Regions from separate parts of the Homo sapiens genome. Here regions 2 and 3 are each linked to region 1. The links are contacts of gene promoters, found by promoter capture Hi-C in blood cells and fetal thymus (Javierre and others, 2016). All regions are on one chromosome and are shown on one strand. Each heading gives the region's core, a stretch centred on a gene start or on the middle of the fragment in contact. The rest is flanking DNA. Distances are from core to core; before and after follow the strand shown.

Evidence for each region. Contacts are between HindIII fragments. The CHiCAGO score rates a contact against its expected background, and 5 or more counts as called.
Region 2: a contact is called between a fragment that was not itself captured here and the fragment with the promoter of RAB32 in region 1, in 1 of 17 cell types (endothelial precursors). The highest score is 11.5, in endothelial precursors.
Region 3: a fragment that was not itself captured here is called in contact with the fragment with the promoter of RAB32 in region 1 in 1 of 17 cell types (M2 macrophages); the score reaches 5.8 in M2 macrophages.

Annotation. Positions count from the first base shown.
Region 1 is chr6:146,542,512-146,545,162 of GRCh38, forward strand. RAB32 (RAB32, member RAS oncogene family) reads left to right here and starts at 1,322. Exons shown (of 3, transcript NM_006834.5): 1 at 1,322-1,610. The coding sequence starts at 1,361. RefSeq lists a silencer at 896-1,275. The HindIII fragment of the contact is 5,944 bases long and covers 1-2,183 here.
Region 2 is chr6:146,050,285-146,052,935 of GRCh38, forward strand. All of the region lies in intron 1 of GRM1 (glutamate metabotropic receptor 1), which reads left to right. Among named protein-coding and RNA genes, the nearest start is that of GRM1, 23 kb to the left of the region's middle. The HindIII fragment of the contact is 2,597 bases long and covers 56-2,651 here.
Region 3 is chr6:146,277,537-146,280,187 of GRCh38, forward strand. All of the region lies in intron 2 of GRM1 (glutamate metabotropic receptor 1), which reads left to right. Among named protein-coding and RNA genes, the nearest start is that of GRM1, 250 kb to the left of the region's middle. The HindIII fragment of the contact is 1,783 bases long and covers 399-2,181 here.

The sequences.
Region 1 (2,651 bases), core at 72-2,571:
GTTAACAGACACTTTGGTTGTTTCCAAATCTTCGCAACTGTGAATAATGCTGCATGAACTTGAGAGCGATTTCTGAGATCCTGATTTCATTTCCTTTGAGTATACACCCAGAAGAGGGATAGCTGGGTCACTGGCTTTAGCAACGATTTTTGCAATATCACACCAAAAGCCCAGGCAACCAAAGCAAACCTAGATAAATGGGACTTCATCCAACTAAAATGCTTCTGCACCGCATAGGAAATAATCAACAAAATGAAAAAACAGCCTATAGATTGGGAGAAAATATTTGTGAGCCATATATCTGATAAGGGGTTAATATCCAAAATACATTACGTTCACAGAACTCAGCCAAAATAAATAAATAAAACACCCAGTTAACTAACGGGCAAAGGATGTGAATGGACTTTTTTTTTTTTTCCAGAGGAAGTACAAATTGCCAACAGGTATAAGAAAAGGCGCTCAAAATCACTAATGAACAGGGAAAAGCCACTAGGTATCTCCTCACACCTGCTAGGATGACTGTTATAAAAAAGATAAGCGATAATAAGTGTCGGTGATGTGCGGAGCAAAGGGAACCTTGTACACTGGTGGTGGGAATGCGGACTGGAACAGCCATTATGGAAAACCCTACGGAGGTTCACTCAAAAAGTTAAAAACAGAACTACCAGCCCAGTGTTATCCGTCCTTCGTTAAGTTCAAAGTCACGGTGCCACTTCCTTTCCCATCTAAAGGGGACTGCTCGCGACCCAAGCCAAGGCCCGCAAGTGTGGCTCTCCCTGCGGGGAGAGTAGGGCAGGAGGTGGATTTCCAGGCCAGAGGCTTCCAGGCTGGGCCCGGACCCCACGCCGACCCCGGCCCCGGGGGGGGCTCAGCGACCTCGGCGCCTCCTCAGGCCCCCAGTGAACCTCCGGGGCCCATAAAGGCTCCAGGCCGGCTCCCCGGAGGCCCACCAGCGGGCGTCTGGGCCTCCCTCCGCGCCGCGACCGCCAGGAGGCGCCGCCCGGGAGAGGAAGTCCAGCTGGGCCCGGCCGGGCTTCGGAGGCGCCGCCCGGGAGAGGAAGTCCAGTTGGGCCCGGCCGGGCTTCAGAGGCGCAGGGCGGGAGCCGCCTCGCGCAGGGTCCTCCCCAAGCCGGCGCCAGGCCCTGCCCTCGTCCGGCCCTGCCCTCGTCTGGCCCCGCCCGGGCCGCGAGCACTGGCGGGTTCTGGGTCCTGTGACCGGTCAGGCGGCGTCAGCGGGCGCGGCGGAGGGCTGGCCGGCCTCGGGGGAGTTTCCGCGGCCGCCGGGGGCGCGGCGGCAGAGCGCGAGGCCGGGCAGGGGGCCAGACTCGGAGTCGAGGCGCGCCCGACAGCCGCAGCGCTCATGGCGGGCGGAGGAGCCGGGGACCCCGGCCTGGGGGCGGCCGCCGCCCCAGCGCCCGAGACCCGCGAGCACCTCTTCAAGGTGCTGGTGATCGGCGAGCTTGGCGTGGGCAAGACCAGCATCATCAAGCGCTACGTCCACCAGCTCTTCTCCCAGCACTACCGGGCCACCATCGGGGTGGACTTCGCCCTCAAGGTCCTCAACTGGGACAGCAGGACTCTGGTGCGCCTGCAGCTGTGGGACATCGCGGGTAAGCGCGGCCGCGAGTTTCCCACTCCAGAGCCCCGCCGGGCCGCCTGGCTCCTCTCTGCTTCTTTTCTTTTTCTTTTCTGCCTGAACTCGTCTGCCTGGGTACCTTTAGGAGAAGAGAGAGGCCCAATCCAAGGGCGAGATGCGATGGACGCGGTCGGCTGGACTCGGTGGGGCCCAGAGGATGGGATGGGCAGTAGGAGTTGGAGCAGGTCCTGCACGCCAGAGCTCGCTCTCCTGAAGGGAGGCGAGGAGGCCAGGGGGCCTTTTCCAGAAGTTTGAACTCTGAATAATGCAAGTATATCATACATACACCAGGACTAGTTGAGAAGGCTGCTTTGGAGCGGGCCGGCGCCTCTCAGCCTCAACTCAAGTTCAGAGGGATTGGGTGACTTAACCCGAAGCTGCACTCCTAGTTAGTGACACCACCAAGACCAAAAGCCAGGTTCCTTTCCAGATCATTTTCCACCACCCGCCTTGGCTCTGAGACTGGCCTTTGTGAGGGAAACTCCATTCCTCAAATACTTTGCTCTCATCGGAAGCCGAGGACAGACACTCCGTGAAGATTTGGGAAAGCTTTTCTGAAACCTTACACTCACCCCTTCCTCTCTTGCTAAACCAACACCTAGTCCCATCCCTGGTGCCCTCGCCCCCCCCCGCCCCCCCCCCACTCCTCAATACAGTGTTTCTCTGCCATTTGCTTTCATTTGTTCTGTTTGAGGGGGTACATTTCCCTCTGCTCTGATTTATGAACACTTGAACTTTGCCTGGTGTGGTGGTTGGGAGTGGGCGTTTTAAAGATGATGTTAACTATTGGAAAGTTCATAGAAATGGTACCAAGCCAAGTGCCAGTGGCTCACGCCTGTAATCCCAGCACTTTGGAAGGCCTAGACTGGAGGATCGCATGAGCACAGGAGTTCGAGACCAGCCTGGGCTGTTAGTGAGACCCTGTCTCTACAAAATACATACATACATATATACATACATACATACAAAAAATTAGACAAGTGTGGTCGTGCGTGCCTGTAGTCCCAGCTACTCA
Region 2 (2,651 bases), core at 104-2,603, 490 kb before region 1:
ATGTGTGTCTCTCTAGAAAATGTGTGTCTCTCTAGAAAAGGCAGTTCTACTCTAAAGCTTGCTCCTGTTTGGCTGCAAGTAACAGATAGAGGGAGGCATTGTCAGAGGGTAAGAGTAGCTACACACTGATTTGTTTTAAAGCACACTTGATCCTTGAAAAACCTTCAAACACAGTAACTCCTGGAAATGATGATAAAAAGACATGCCTTCTTTTCTTCTGTATTTAGAACAATTCTATAATTAAAAGAAACAAACATATCCATATTTCTAAAAACAAGGGATATTTTTAAGAGGGGGGAGGGGAAGAAAAGCTATATCTTCTCTTTGGAAATTTCCAGGGCATTAGTAATGGGAGTTTACTGCATTTTGAAATTTGACAATACTCTTAGCTGCTCATTCTCCAAAGCAGAATCTACACACTGCCAATTAATTTTCCATTGTAGTGTTAGTTCATGCAGAAGCCAGCCTCTCTTACTTAGTCCCTAGTGTGATTACGGCATATGCCTATGAGATTCCTGTTTGTTTGTTCATTTGCTTTTGTGGAAGGAATTCCGGTATTAGGCTCATTTGATTGGACCAAATAAAGCTGATGACCTGTGAACCTGTGATCCAGTGAGGAGGATACATAGAGTCTATGGTTTCATAACAGAGCGTTGCAATCAACCCTTCCTGGGAAGGTCTACCAGTGACTTTGGCTTACCAAAAGAGCTACTAGCCTTTTAAATTTTGGTTCCTCCATTTGTAGTTATAGTTCAAGCAGACACATAATAAAAAGTCTGGGTATGAAGGAGGGGGATTAGTGGTTAATAAGGAGACTTGGACTCAGACACATCTGCTTTCTTACCCTATCTTAGAGCCGTGTGACTTTAGGTGAGTCACTGAGACTCTCTAAACCTACTCCTCAAATCTGCAAACCAGAGATTATAATTGTACTTACTTCTCATGCAGCTAACAAGATAATGGCTAGCATATAATAAGAACTCAATAAAATACATAAACATACACACATAAGCTAATAAGGTGGTGGTCTGATATTGTGTATCCTACAGTGGTTAGCTTCTATTGGAAGTGACTTCCCCTCCATCTGTAAATATGATACAGTGCTCATCCTAAGTCTTTTTCAGAGACCTACACTGGAGCTAGCACATAATTTACTGATAAAGGGGAAAAGAGGAAGATTCATATAGAGAATAGACTGAGAGCCTCTTAGGCATCTAACTGCTCCCATCCCTTGACTGCTTTGCATCTGGAAAATTTGCAGTGTTTAATATGCTCCTGTTAAAAGGTAATGCCTTTGGAAAATATAGCACTTAAAGCTATGATCAGTTATGACTTCAAGATTTTCAGATAAGTGGTTAGGGGGTCATGACAGAGTAGTGCCTGCAGCGGGGAGCCAGTCCTTCACAGGCCAGTTGGAAGACATCAAAGGTTATTCCTATTTCATAATTGTTAGTGGATTTTAGCTATGAACATATGTATAGCATTTCCTGAAGTTTCCTGAGAATCATCTTTAATCATCATCACTACTGTTTCCCAAGCACCCTTATATAATCTTCTTGGTTTATATAAACTAATGGCTTCTACTCTGTACAAGGTTGCGATTTGAAAAGGCACTGGGAAGAAAATACCAGTTGCAAAGGGTGGTGGAGGCTGAAGTCATGTCAACAAGATCATAAGGCTGAAACCAGATATTTGTAATGCTGCTTGTAACTTTCTCGAGAGTAGGATATATCTTATATCTCTTCTGATTTATATAGCACTTATTACAACTCCTTGTACATAGGCTGAAAATGTTAGTTTAAATAAATTGACATTACAAAGTAGGATTTTTTTAAATTTTAAATCAGAGTTGTGAGGCTGTGAGGAAAACATGTTCTTTATTTGTCTGAGGGAAAGAATTAGAGATTGGGAGCAATTTCTGTAACCAAACTTTCCTCAATATTATATTTACTTTATTACATTCCATTTTCTTAGTCATTTATGGGCCATAAATTCAGCCTCTCTGTTGTTTATAACTTAAGTTTTTATTTTTTAATTTTTGTTTAGGGCACTGGTTGTCACTTCTGGCTGCTCATTACATTTATCTAGGGAGCTTTAAAACCTATAGATGCCCAGCCCCAGCCGTGGAGGCTCTGCTGGAGCCTGGAAATCAGACTCAGGTGTTCACAGCCCTTCCCATGGGGAGAAGGATGGGGAGTTAGGGAGAGAAAGGGGTAAAGAGTGTGTCTAGCATTGCAAATGTATAGGGTGAGTCTGCCTAGTATCATCTGGTATCACCTATCCCATCCCACTCAGCCATGGGTCTCCTTGCCATCCTTGAGCACATGAAGGATGTACCCTCATTAATGCCTTGGTGTTGGCTGTTTCCTCCAGCTGAAATCCACTTTCTTCAGCTATTTTTGTGGCTGGCTGCTTCTTTTCATTTAGATCTTAATTCAAATATCATTTCCTCAGGAATCCCTTCTCTATATAAAGTATAACCCTTCCCCTTTCACTTTCTATCCTGTTGCTTTGTTGTGTTTACTTTGTGCCATTTCCTACTATTGGAAATTATCTCATTTATGCAATTCTTTACATATTTGTTGTTATACTCACCTACTAACAGGACACCGTCATATTTCCAGAACCTAGAACAATGCCTGATGCCCCAA
Region 3 (2,651 bases), core at 40-2,539, 270 kb before region 1:
TCCCCTGGCTTACAGACTTTGGCAAATGTTTTTACACATTTCAAGAATTAAGACTATCCATGCAACTGCCTTGGGGGAAGACACCTGGAACCTTGCTCCTGGTTTCCCCTGGACTTGACTTCTTACACTTTTTCCCTTTGATGTTTTAATCTGTATCCATTTGTTACAATATATTGTAACTGTGAATGTTAACAGTTGTTCAAGTCTCATGAGTGATTCTAGTGAATAGTTGAGACTGAGGGTGAATTGTGCCTGCCTCACCCCAAAGTATGGTTCAAGACAGTCTTTTAATTAATAATATCACTTAAGAAAGCTTTCCTAAATAATTAAATTAATAATATCACTTCAGAAAGCTTTCCTAAAATGCTTCTAAAGTCAAGCAAGATTTTTTAATTAAAAGCTTAATAGTTAACTTTAAATTACATTAAGAGAAAAAAATTTACTGAAAACATACTATCTTTAGGCTATCTGAGATTTTTAAGTATCTATTACCAAGTTTTCAACTTTCAGTGATTCCAGATCATTTGGATTCAAGATTAAAGTGATTATATTTTTTCTCTTTGATTCATTATTATAATATCCATTTGATAAAGAACCCCAAAAGAAATATCATTATGTACCTTCAAATCATATTTATTTGGAAGACTCATTAAAAACCAGAAGCTATGTTGTACTTTAAATATATTATCTTTAGTTTTTAATTTTCAGCATAATCAGGTGATATAATATTAATGTTGCTTTATATGTGAGAAAAATTGGGCTTAGAAAGTTAAAGAGATTACTCCAGGCATACTACTGGATGTGGCATAGAGAGTATTTGGATTAGGGTCTATTAGGAATTAAGTTCATGCTTGTTCTATTGTGTTACTCCATATATTCACCCTTAATGACATGTTACTTATTCTGCCTCTGGTAGTAGAGAGAGTAAGCTGCTTGTACATCAATTTTGCTTCTTCCAGCTGGGCGTGATAGCTCACTCCTGTAAACCCAGCATTTTGGGAAGCCAAGGCGGGCGGATCACCTGAGGTCAGGATTTCAAGGCCAGCCTGGCCAACATGGTGAAACCCTGTCTCTACTAAAAATACAAAAATACAAAAATTAGCCGGGTGTGGTGGTTGATGCCTGTAGTCCCAGCTACTTGTGAAGCTGAGGCAGGAGAATCACTTGAACCTGGGAGGCTGAGGTTGCAGTAAGCCGAGATCACGCTACTGCACTCCAGCCTGGGTGACAGAGTGAGACTCTGTCTCAAAACAAAACAAAAACTTTGCTTCTTCCTTAAATATTTAATGGAAATCAACAGAGAAGTTATATAGAGCTAGAGGTTACGCCCGGCTAATTTTTTGTATTTTTAGTAGAGTCGGGGTTTCACCGTGTTAGTCAGGATGGTCTCAATCTCTTGACCTCCTAATCCGCCCGCCTCGGCCTCCTAAAGTGTTGGAATTACAGGCGTGAGCGACCGCGTCCAGCTGAGAATGTTTTTTATTGCAAATTCATTTTTATTAACAGATATTGTAATTGTAACCATTAAATTCTTCCTGAGTCCATTTTTCTATTGTGTCTACCAAGGAATTTTAAAATTTCTTTTAAACTGTCAACATTATTGGCATAACATTTTTATAATAATTTCTGTTCCTTTTAATGTGTATGGAATCAATAGTGATTTTTAATTCATTGCTATTATTGATCATTTATATCTGCTCTCTGTCTCTCTCTTTCAGTATATCTAGAGGTTTATAAATGCTGCTAATAATTTCAAATAATGACTTTTGGTTTCTTTGATTTGCTTTAACTTCTATTACATACTCTCTTTTTTTACATACTTTTGATTTAGTTTGATATTAATTTGCTAGGTTACTAAAGTTGAAACACATTAATTTTAAATATTTTTATTTATCTTTCATATGCATTTAGAGATATAAAAATTTTTTAACCACTGTTTTAACTGTATCCCATAAATTTGAATAGACTGTGTTTTAGTTATTATTCAGTTAAAAAATTTTCTATTTACCTTTGACATTTGTTCTCTAACTGTGAATTATTTATAAGTGTGTTGCTTAATTCAAAATATTTGGTGATTTTTCCAGATTGTGTTATTATTGATTTTTATGTTTAATTCTGTTGTGGTGAGAGAACATTATTTGTATCACTTAATCCTTTGAGTTTTAGTGAGCTTGTGGCCCAAGCTTTTACTTATATAAAAACACCATTTTTTTGCCATCATTTAAAAATAATATTATACTGACTATAGAAATGTAGGTTGATGGGTTTTATTTATTGATTTTTTTTTCATCACTTGCCTTCTTGCTTGCATCATTTTTCTATGACAAGGGCGTGATAATTCTTATTTATTATTGTTCACCAGTGTGTAATTTATCTGGCTGCCTTTGAGATTTTCTCTTTTACTTTGGTTTTCAGAAATGTGGTGGGACTAGGTGTGGTTTTCTTTGTATTTATCCTGCTAGGATTTTATTGAACTTCTTGGATGTGTGGGTTGATTTCTTTTGGTCAAAATTGACAAGTTTCATCATTATTCATTCAAATACTTTTTTCATTCTAATTGCTCTCATCTTCTTGGACTTCAATTATGTGCACATTTCTGCCACCCTGAACTATGAATTTTATTTCTTCCACCCACCAAGACCCCAGCTCTC